Regions from separate parts of the Homo sapiens genome. Here region 2 is linked to region 1. Evidence: promoter capture Hi-C in 16 types of primary human blood cells and fetal thymus (Javierre and others, 2016). All regions are on one chromosome and are shown on one strand. The core of a region is centred on a gene start or on the middle of the fragment in contact, and the rest is flanking DNA. Distances in the headings are between cores, read along the strand shown. Region 1 holds the start of TMEM98 (transmembrane protein 98). Region 2 overlaps MYO1D (myosin ID).

Region 1 (5,718 bases), core at 1,109-3,608:
GCCTCTTGCCAGTTTTCACTCAGGAGACTGTTTCACATCTATTTCTTTTTCTCATAGAATTCTTTTATTTGTGTACAAAAGAAGAATGAAAGAAGTCCGTGCATTTGTATATACTAGTGCACAGAATTTTTTTAGTATGAACACATCGATAGGCACAAACACACATAAAATGTAACTTGATAACAGTAGCTGCCTCTGGAGAGAGGAACTGAAGAACGGGGTCTTTCACACCTATTTTAAACTCATAAGCCAGAAGAACAAGGGCATCTCACAGAAGTACATATTCACTGTTATTTCATTGTAGGCCTCCTGCTTGTCTCTCTTTGTGCAAGCATTCTCCCCTCTCTGGGCTTTAATTTCCCCACGTGAAAAAAAGACACTCTGACTTAGGAGTCCTTAGAATACCAGGAGGGTGCTTTTCCTCTATTTGCACTTAATTCTATCCTCCATGTCTCGGAGGGTCCAAACGCTCTCGGTCACCATTCACTAAGTATTTATTGATCATCTACTATGCATCATGCACTGGAGATTGGAGATAGATAGGACAGAGACCCTGATCTTAAGGAGTTGGTGGGAGAGGCAGACAGGTGACAAACCACTTCAACTCCATGTGCCTGTGCTTCCTGCAGAAGAACACAGAAAAGAGAGTAACTGTGCTTGCATGACACTTTCTGGGAACTGACACTTTCACAGGAGTGGTGAGGCTAGAGCTGGGTTTTGAAGGATGAGCAGGAGTTTGCCAGGTAGACAAGGTTGGGACATGCCTGGCTTAAAGTGCCAAGGAAGCCTTTCTCAAAGGGCTCACAGAGCTGCTCTCCCATCTCGAGCTCACTGGACCACAAGAAGGAGAAGGCTGGCATCTGCCTCTTCTGTGTGTGTCGCTGATTTTGTGAGAGGTAGGTGGGGGAGGGGGGTAATTCTCAGGGTCCGCCTCTGTTTCTCTACGTGTGTGTTTCTCTTTACTGTCCTTTTAACCACCTCCTTTTGGCCTTTGTGTTTTCTGCCTCCTCTTATGTCTGCCTTTATCTCTGTTTCTCTTTCCAGGCATCTTTCCCTCTGCTGCTCCCGTCTCCCGCTTCTCAGTGTCTCTCCTTCCCCTCCCCCGGTCCCCAGGCCTCCAAGACCACCCACTTGGTTTCCTCTCTCTTCCTGTGCGTTCTGAGTGTTTCTCTGATCGTGTTTCTCTGGGTGTGTGTGAGCTGAGTGTGCTTCTAAGTGTGTTTCTCCGTGTGTGTTTGTGTTAGTGTGCGTGAGCTGTTTTTCTGTTTCTGTGTGTGTGAGCTGTTTCTCAGAGTGTGCTTCTGAGTGTGTGAGCTGTGTTTCTCAGAGTGTGTTTCTGAGTGTTAGCTATGTTTCTGAGTGTTTTCTGAATGTGCTTGTGTGAGCTGTTTATCTTGAGTGTGCTTGAGTGGGTGTGAGCTGATTGTGTTTCTCAGAGTATGTTTCTGAGTGTGTGTGAGCTGAATGTTTCTCCGAGTGTGCTTGTGTGTGTGAGCTGAGTGTGCTTCTGAGCGAGTGTGAACTGTTTCTCGGAGTGTGTTTCTGAGTGTGTGTGAACTGAATGTTTGAGTGTGCTTCTGTGTGTGAGCTGAGTGTTTATCTTGTGTGCCTCTGAGTGCGTGTGTTTCTGAGTGTGTGTGAACTGAATGTTTCTGAGTGTGCTTCTGTGTGTGAGCTGAGTGTTTATCTTGTGTGCTTCTGAGTGCGTGTGTTTCTGAGTGTGTGTGAACTGAATGTTTCTTAGTGTGCTTGTGTGTGTGACCTGAGTGTTTATCTTAAGTGTGCTTCTCAGTGCGTGTGAGCTGAGTGTGTTTCTCGGAGCGTGTGTTCGTGGTCCTTCTCTGCAGTCTGCGTGGCGTTTCTTTGTGTTTTTCTTTCTCTATTCTTCCCTGCGTACTGAAGAGTAAGTTTTCCTGTTTTTCTCCGTCTCTTTCTCTCTCCCTTACTTTCCCCCTTCCCCTCCGGTTCCAGAACCACAAGGACAGAACAGACCCAAGACCCTACCCGCTTCCCCGTGCTCGTCCACCCAGGACGCCCACTCTGTCCCCGGGAGGGAGGGACCCCCAGCCCGCCCGGGACGCGCCGCACGGGCCCCGGAGCGCTCCGGGGCGCGGCTCCTACTCCTTTCCCCAACTTCGGGCGCGCGGCCCCGCGGCAAGAACAAAGCTGCGGCACCCGCCTCCCCTCTCCCCGGCAGCCGGGCCAGGCCCCGCGCCCCCGCGTCCCCTTCCCCGACTCGCCGCGGCCCGCCCGGCCCGGCGGGGCTCACCCACCTCAGGCTGTGGCTCCCGGGCGCATCCCGCGACTGCCCCGCCGATGGCAAAGTCCGGGCGCGGGCGCGGGCCTGCAGCGGAGCATGCCGGGAAGCGCCGCGGCCCTAGGAATCCAGCCTCGCGCCCCCGCGCCCCGGCCCCCGGCCCCCGGCCCGCGCCAAATCCCCGCCGCCAGGCGCCGCCGTCACCGCCAGGCCCCCCGGCGGCCGGGGCAGCTGGGAGGCGGGCCCTGGCGACCCAACACCCCTTCCTCGCGCCCCCGCGGTGGCCCGTCCGGGCGGCAGACGGAGAGGGGAGCGGAGGGTCCCTGCCTGCGCCCCGCCCCGGGCTGGCGGTCCCAGGCGGCGAGCGCGGATGGGTACCGCAGGGGGGCTGGCGGCGGAGCCAGTGTGCTCCGCCACGGACTGTCCCATTGAAACCCTGCCTCTGCCACTCACTAGCTATGGACAACTTAGTTCAGCCTTTGTGCCTCGGTCTGTAAAACGGGGCTGCTGCTTGTCAGCATCCTCAGAGTTGGTATTAGGAATGATGGGATGCAGGATGCATCGGACTGCCTGGCCCAGGGTAAAGAGTGAATCGAGGGTCGCTCTTATTTACAGCCTGACCCACGGGTCAGTGAGAAGCAGGCCCACCCCTGGCGACTGCCTAGCCAGGGGCAAGAGTACAAATGCAGAGCCCTTGCTAGTAGTCTTGCTGCTTCTATTCCCACACGACTCCATCCCATACATACTGAAGGGGGTCTACTGGTTCAGGCAAACACACACCCCCTACCCTGCCATCCTTCATTCTAACGATACTCAGGCCAGGCAGGGCAGGCTGCCCTGGGTGGATGGAAGTCAGACCTTGGAAGCAGGCTCAGGGCTGTTTACACAGGGATTTCCGGAGTCCAGGGTACCAGGAGCATGATCTAGAAGGGAACATACGCTCCAGCTGGAGTGGGCCAACTAAAGCACGGGGTTCAGGGCAGGATCCCAGTGGTCCAGGTCTGAGGTCAGTATCGGTGACAGTTAACAAAGGATACAGATTGGGTCCTAGGCCGCTTGACACAGGGTCTGCAAACTGGTACCCCCAAGGCCACATCCAGCCCACAGAGGTGGTTTTTTTGGTTCATACTTTTGTTGTTTTATTTTAATTTTTTTGAGACAGAGTCTCAGTCAGTCGCCCAGGCTGGAGTGCTGTGGCACAGTCTTGGCTGTTTACGGGTGGAGGGTGTCCAGGTTCTTGCCTTTATTTATTTATTTATTTATTTATTTATTTATTTTTTGAAACAGAGTCTGGCTCTGTTGCCCAGGCTGGAGTGCAATGGCACGATCTCAGCTCACTGCAACCTCTGCCTCCTGGGTTCAAGCGATTCTCCTGCCTCAGCCCCCCAAGTAGCTGGGATTACAGGTGTGCGCCACCACGTCCCACTAATTTTTTTTGTTATTTTTAGTAGAGACGGGGTTTCGCCACGTTGGCCGGGCTGGTCTGGAACTCCTGACCTCAGGTGATCCACCCACCTCAGCTTCCCAAAGTGCTGGGATTATAGGCATGAGCCACCGCACCCGGCCTGTTCTTGTCATTTTGAACAAAGAATTAGACAAAAGGCACAAGCAAAGCAAGTAAAGAAAGAATGAAGCAACAAAAGCAGAGATTTATTGAAAACAAAAGTGCATTCCACAAGGTGGGAGCAGGCCCCTGCATATGGGCTCAAGAGCCCCTGCTGTAGAATCTTCTGGGGTCCAAATACCTCCTAGAGGTTTCCCATTGGCCACTTGGCGTTCACCCCATGTAAATGAAGTGGTGCCACAATTAGTCTGATTGGTTGTGGAAAGCAACCAATCAGAGGCTGAAGTGAAGTTACAAAGGTTGCACTCCTATGCAAAAGAAGATTTGGCCCGCAATCAGTCTGATCGGTTACTTTCCACAACCAATCAGAGGCTAAAGTGAAGTTACAAAGTTACACTCCTATGCAAAAGAATATTTGGCCGCAATCAGTCTGACTGGTTGCTTTCCACAACCAATCAGAGGCTGAAGTGAAGTTACAAAGTTACACTTCTATGCAAACGCAGGATTGGTTGCGGAAAGGCAATCAGAGGTACTTTCAAAAGATTTTCCATCTGCCAAGCAGAAAGTGGGGAGTGGGGGTTGCAAAGGGAGTAGTCTCTGGTCCGTTTGTTACTTAGGTGCGGAAAGTTGGGGTTTTCCTTTTGATTTAGTTCTAGGAAGTCAGGTGAACCCTTAGGTTTCCTGCCTCCAGACCCTATTCTCCTGCCTCATCTCTCTCCTGAGAGACATGACCCCCATAAATCTTTATGGGATGCAGAGGAACTGTAACTGCTTTATGCCAACTTGGGGCGTAGTTCCTACCTACTGGAGATCATGGAACTCTTGCCCTACTCTGTCTAGTGGAGACAGTGTGGCATCCTGATGGCCAGGGGTGGTGTCTTCACTTGGAACTGACTGGAAACTTTGTCACATGATCATCTGAAGCTTGATGGTCTCTATGTGAAAGGAAATGAATATGGTTAAAAGATTTAACAGGAACTTCAGGGGGTGGATACTTATGCTGTCAGGAATGTTCATTATGGAGATGAATTGAAACATTCTGCTAATTACTACAAAGGAAGTGATTCCATAAGTTTGGAAGAAGGCAATAAAAAAATGGCCACTATTATCCAGAGCACTTCCACGTTTTATTAAGTACCTTATCTCCTGGCCTGATTTGGGGTTGCTGGGATTGGCCAAGACTCAGCTATTTTTACAGGCACATATTCCTAAGTTAGGTTACCGTTCATCCACAGAGACTCCAATATAGAAATACGGAGTCCTTCTCAGGCTATATTTAATTTGCTTTAACAATTTCCCCCTTTTGGTCATTTTCTCAATTTTGAGAGATTGACCAAACCTTTAGTCATTCATGTCACTACCACCATCATAAATGAACTTATTTGGTCTTGAAACCCACTGGGAAACAGTAAAACAACAGTGAGTTTTGTACAGTGGGAACAAGGACTGAGTAGAGGGTACCTCCTTATGGTGGAACATCCTGTTTGCAGGAGAAAAACAAAACCTGGTCTGTTTTAGGATCTATGTGTTTTGGTTTGTTTGGTTTGCTGGGGCCTAGCACATGATGTCAGTCCAAAACACTGGCCTCTCATAATTTTGTTAAAAAAATTCTCCCTTTTTGGTCAGGTTCTCACTTGGGTGAGAGTGTGACCAAAATTTAAGGCCTTAGCACCACACTCACTTGCCATCATTTTGGGTTTCCAGTCTCACCACATCATTCATAGGTTATGGTATCCTCCTGGTCATGCACTTCTTTCAGCTCTTGTCATTCCACTTGAAAAGAGACCATTTGACATTCTAGAGATGGCTGAATGCAAGCATTTAAAGCCTTTGAGATAATACAGCGCACCAGGGAGACTATTATTATGACTACTGGGAGGATAATACTAAGAGTTTG
Region 2 (5,718 bases), core at 2,275-4,774, 110 kb after region 1:
GCATGATTTATAATCCTTTTGGTATATACCCAGTAATGGGATGGCTGGGTCAAATGGTATTTCTAGTTCTAGATCCCTGAGGAATGGCCACACTGACTTCCACAATGGTTGAACTAGTTTACAGTCCCATCAACAGTGTAAAAGTGTTCCTATTTCTCCACATCCTCTCCAGCACCTATTGTTTCCTAAAAACCACTAATTTTAAAATGCTGCCTGTGGTTGGCAGAATTATGCCCCACCATCACCCCCAAAGGATGTCCACAACCTAATCCCTGCATTCATATTTTGTCTCTTTCTTTCACTTTTTGAACAAAAATCCTATGCTTATAAGTAAAAGGAGTTTTTCCCTGAAAAAACTTTTCCCCCCAGTCCCTAGTATGGACGAGTTTGAATTTGGTAGTTTGAATTTAGATCTGTCCATGGAAATTCAGTTCAAATATAGGACTAGATCTCCCTGGATCCATAGAGAAGTTCCAGTCAAAGATGTGTGTGTGTGTGTGTGTGTGTGTGTATGTGTGATTTACTTATCTTCAGCTGACAAAGGTTGGCAGTTGTAGGGCACTTGGCCATCTCTTATTTCTCTACAATAAGGATTACTTCATCCTTATTTGTAATTCCTAAAACTAAATTAAATTTTATGTACATATGTATTCATTCATTTCTTTATTTTAGTTTGTTGATTTAAGAATATTCCCACAAGTTAAACAATGAAAGTGATAGTTATATTAGAGATATGAATGACTAATTATTCCTGCCCACCACCTACATCATTTTCCCCCCAGCTTAATGGAGGTTTTATTGACAAACAAAAATTATATATACTTGCATCCAGTCATAAAAAAGAATGAGATCATGTCCCTTGCAGGGCCATGGATGGAGCTGGAGGCCATTATCCTTAGCAGACTAACACAGGAACAGAAAACCAAATACTGCATGCTCTTACTTATAAGTGGGAGCTAAATGATGAGAACACATGGACACACAGAGGGGAACACACACTGAGGCCTATCAGCGGGTGGAAGGTGAGAGGAGGGAGAGGATCAGGAAAAATAACTAATGGGTACAAGGCTTAATACCTGAGTGATGAAATAATCTGTACAACATACCTCCAACACAAAAGTTTACCTATATAACAAACCTGCATATGTACCCCCTTAACTTAAAATAAAAGTTAAAGAAAAAGTAGGAAGAATGAACAGAAAAAATATATATACTTAAAGTATACAATGTGATGTTTTGATATAGGTATACATTGTGTAATTATTACCACAGTCAAGCTAATTAACGTAGTCATCACCTTATATAGTTACTCTTTTGTGTGTTTATGGTGAGAATATTTTTCTATAACTGAAAGTTTCTACCCTTTGACCAATATCTCTCCATGTCCGCCATCCCTTGACCATATATGCCCTCATATGGTCATAATTGTATGAGGTTATGACCTCATAACAACCATTCTTTCTTTTTCCTTGAGTTCAACTTTTTAGATTCCATATTGTAAGTGAAATCATGTAGTATTTGTCTTTCTGTGTCTGGCTTATTTCACTTAGCATAATATCCTCCAGGTTCATTAATCATTCATGTCACAAATGGCAGGATTTGCTTTTTAAAACTGAATAGTATTCCATTTTCTGTGTATGTGTGTATATCACATTTTCTTTATCCATCCATTTGTCAACAGACACTTTGATTCTTTCGTATCTTGAGACTAATGTGAATATGCTGCAGTGAACATGGGGTGAAGATCTGTCTTCAAGATGGTGATTTTCTTTCCTTTGAACATATACCCAGAAGTGGGATTGCTGGGTCATATGGTAGCTCTATTTTTAATTTTTTGAGGAACCTACATACTGTTTTCCATAATGGCTGTACCAGTTTACATTCCCACCAACAGTGTGCAAGAGTTCCCATTTCTGTGCATCCTTGTTCTCACTTTTTAAAAGAGAAACTACCCTTCTATGGCCTTACTGAACAGTGACCATGTTTTGAACCACTTGATTCCTGTCTCCCGTCTCTCCCTCTTGCCACATCTGGAATGAGACATAATCCAAAGATGACCAACCTGTGGGCTTACCAACAACCTGTGGCTTGATTTGCAAAGTTTAACTCAGTCAGTTTTAAGTACTATGCATGTTGTCTAGATTGAAATTCCGACTTAGCCACTTGCTAGTTGTGTAACCTTAAGCAGGTTACCCAAAGTTCACTATGCCTCAGTTTCCTTCTCTGTAATATTAGATCCTATATAATGTGGTTTTGAGAATTAAAAATAGTTAAGTCCTTAGAACAGTATCTGGCTCATACTCAAAGCTTCATAAATGGTAGCCATTATTATTATTCTGGTAGGAATTTGGAATTAAGAAACTGAATAACTAAAAGAGTTACTAGTAGAAACTAAAGGTAGAGTGTCATGAGATAGAACAGTGGTTTTTATTCCTTTTTGGGGTCATTGCTTTCCTGAAGCATCTGATGAAAGTATGGACATTCCCTGCAGAAAAGTTCATAAGTATATATAAACAATAAAATCAAGGTTGAAAGCACCTGATGCAGAGAATGATGGAGAGGAGGCCACAGCAAGTCAGAGCCATGTGCAAGTCAGCCTTGAGAAGGAGCAGAAACTGCCACCAAAGCAGAGGGAACTGTTGAGTAAACGGAGGGGAATGGACTGAATGAAAAGGCAGAAGCAGAAGCTGGGAGATAGCCCTTCAGTTCCGGTCCAGTGATTTCTACCCCAGAATTCCTGTGAGATCTCTGTTTATCTCCTCACAGCCAACTTCCCTGCTTATAACCAAGCTAGCATAGCCTCCCTTCTTGCAATCACACTATCCAGACCGAAAAAAAAAAAAAAACTTGAAACCAACTTCTACATGATGAAGCATTATTGCTGTGTCATTTCAGATTTCTTTCAGCCAACATTATGATGTTTTCCTGTGGTGTGATTATATCAACAGCAAATGCTTTCAGAGTAAAGTGAATAGCCATCTGTAGTTACTTTTCAGCGGCTGCTAACTTCCTTTTTTGTAGATAGAACACTTTCCAGGCATATCCTAGTTTTTAACATTCCACTTTAAGGAAAAAGCAAGGAAGAAGTAACGTCAACCTATCTCTCTAGTAGAATTCTCTTTTATTTCTATTAATTTTTTAAAGTTTTTAAGCAGAAAATGAGGCAGAACTTCATAAGATTTTGTAGGTGAAAAGGATTTTAAGGAATTTTCCAGGCCCATTACATCCAAAGAAAACTGGACCCTGGTATCCTATTGCATACTTAGTCTAATTTAGTCCTCACAGTAACCTTATGTGATATAATACCCTTCCTTACAGATGAGGAAACAGGCTTAGAGAGATCTGACCCCTTGCCCAAGATCGCTATAGCAAGTGGTAGAACCAGGATTTGATCTCAGGGTTTTCTGACTACAAAGCCTATGCTGCAATGCTTCACTGGACTCTAAAACTTAGGCTAGAGAAGAGTGAGGCTTTCACTTTATTTCCCCCATTGGTCTCTCTCTCAGCAGCTCTTCTAGAAAAGAAGAATGGGAACTTGCAAGCCCCATTTTTTTGATCCTTGAGCCGAATGGGTCTTGAATGTGTCCATCGAGCATCTGCCTCCGTTGCAGTGTCATCTCAAGTGGTGGTACCTTCCCACTGGGCTGGAGCTACTATTGGATACTTAGCCAACCCTCCTTCCATAATGAGGCCTTCACATGGGACCACAGCTCAGCATTGCTGGGAAGAATGGTCAGAGACTGCAGGGGCAGCAGCGATCCACAGTTTGAACAGAAGCATCACTAAGACTTGTTTACAGACTATTTGCAGGATAGAGGTGTGGTTAAAAGCACTGGCTCTAGAAGTAGACTGCTTAGGTGAATCTCAACTCTTTCACAATACTTGTAGGGCAAGAACCTACTACCTCTTTTTTTTTTTTTTTTTTTTGAGACGGAGTCTCGCTCTGTCGCCCAGGCTGGAGTGCAGTGGCGGGATCTCGGCTCACTGCAAGCTCCGCCTCCCGGGTTCACGCCATTCTCCTGCCTCAGCCTCCCAAGTAGCTGGGACTACAGGCGCCCGCCACTACGCCCGGCTAATTTTTTGTATTTTTAGTAGAGACGGGGTTTCACCGTTTTAGCCGGGATGGTCTCGATCTCCTGACCTCGTGATCCGCCCGCCTCGGCCTCCCAAAGTGCTGGGATTACAGGCGTGAGCCACCGCGCCCGGCCCCTACTACCTCTTAAAGTCTCCATTTCTTTATCTGGAAAGTAAGATATTTCTTTAAAAGTGCATACCATATAGGGTTGTTGTGAAGATTAAATGTGATAATGCACGTAAACCACTTAGCTCAGTGCCTGGCATGGTAACGCTCAGTGAGTGTTGGCTATTACTATACTACTTGAAAACAGTTTAGAGAAAAAGCAAAGAAAGAGGAACATCAACCTCTACTGGATCCTTTTATTTTGGTTAATTTTGAGTTTTTGAACTGAAAACAAGTCATAAATGTATAGGCTTTTATAGCTGGGAAGGATTACTTTCCTTGAAAATGGTAACTCCTGTGTTTAGCTGACAAAACCAGTTTTTAAACTGCAGTCATTTTATGAGTGTAAAATATTACCTTCAAAAGGCATAGAATGTATATGCATTTTATTACTGTAATTAAGAGAGGTACAAATATGTTCTTGTTCCAAGTTTTTTGTTGCTAAACCATTAAATAATCTGGTGGTTGTTTTCCTGTTACTCAGCAACATAAAGAAGCTTCAGTCTTCAGTCTTCAGTCTTCATATCTTTTTAGAAATGCATAAAATTTGTAGATTGCTAATGTATTCTTGTAACATTACTGTTAGCCAGGCATGGTGGCTCATGCCTATAATCCTAACACTTTGAGAGGCCGAGGTGGGAGAATCACTTGAGGCCAGGAGTTCAAGACCAACCTGGGCAACATATCATGACCCTGTATCTACAAAAAAATTTAAAAATCACTGTGAAGTAGCTAGCAGATAATTACTATTTTTATTTTATTTATAGCAATACATCTAGTACCTCATTAAATAGAAATTTGAGGTACAAGTAGTTACTTGCCTAAGTTACATAATTTTTCCTCACCAAAAACTTTTTATTCTGTGGCATTTCTTACCGCTTGTCATCTTTTTCTTTAGTTAAAAACACTAATTTTTTTATTATTTAAAAAAATTCAAAAAGGGACTGTATTATATTGGAAGAAAGACTAAATCCTGTGTGTGTGATGAAAATGGATTAAGGTTTTGATGTTGAATTTTAAACTCATACTTATGCTACATCCAGGAATTTTTCATAATATCTGCAGTTGAGGTGAGTGCATCCATTTATTAGATTTAGACCACTTAATATAAAAACAATGAAGTAACTCAGGATTTACTAATTGTAAATACATAGTATAAATATGTTTAGAGAAAAATTATATGCAAATGTTTTTTCCCTTGCCTAGAATTTGAAGATATTGTTAAAACATGGCAATCTATTGCAAACTTGACTGTTTAGAATCAAACAGAATTATTTAAAATTCAGTTTTAATAGTACTACAGCAATCAGGTGGAGAGAAACCAAAATAATTATTAAAATGATTTCAAAGTTTAAGACGAAAAGTAAATAACATTGGACTAAGTTTCCAACCTTTCCCTTGGTCTAGGACATTAACCTTCTCTCTTTAGCTGCCTAACCCTTATGTATCCTTCTGGGCCCTGCGTTTGTCTCAGTGAA

The links. The method cuts DNA at HindIII sites, captures the fragments that hold promoters and counts their contacts. A CHiCAGO score of 5 or more calls a contact.
Region 2: a contact is called between a fragment that was not itself captured here and the fragment with the promoter of TMEM98 in region 1, in 2 of 17 cell types (naive CD4 T cells and non-activated CD4 T cells). The highest score is 5.3, in naive CD4 T cells.

What each region holds. Positions count from the first base shown.
Region 1 is chr17:32,924,793-32,930,510 of GRCh38, reverse strand. TMEM98 (transmembrane protein 98) reads right to left here and starts at 2,358. Exons shown (of 8, transcript NM_015544.3): 1 at 2,274-2,358. The HindIII fragment of the contact is 5,709 bases long and covers 1-4,747 here.
Region 2 is chr17:32,816,335-32,822,052 of GRCh38, reverse strand. The region is part of intron 1 of MYO1D (myosin ID); the gene reads left to right. Among named protein-coding and RNA genes, the nearest start is that of MYO1D-DT, 58 kb to the left of the region's middle. The HindIII fragment of the contact is 2,430 bases long and covers 2,310-4,739 here.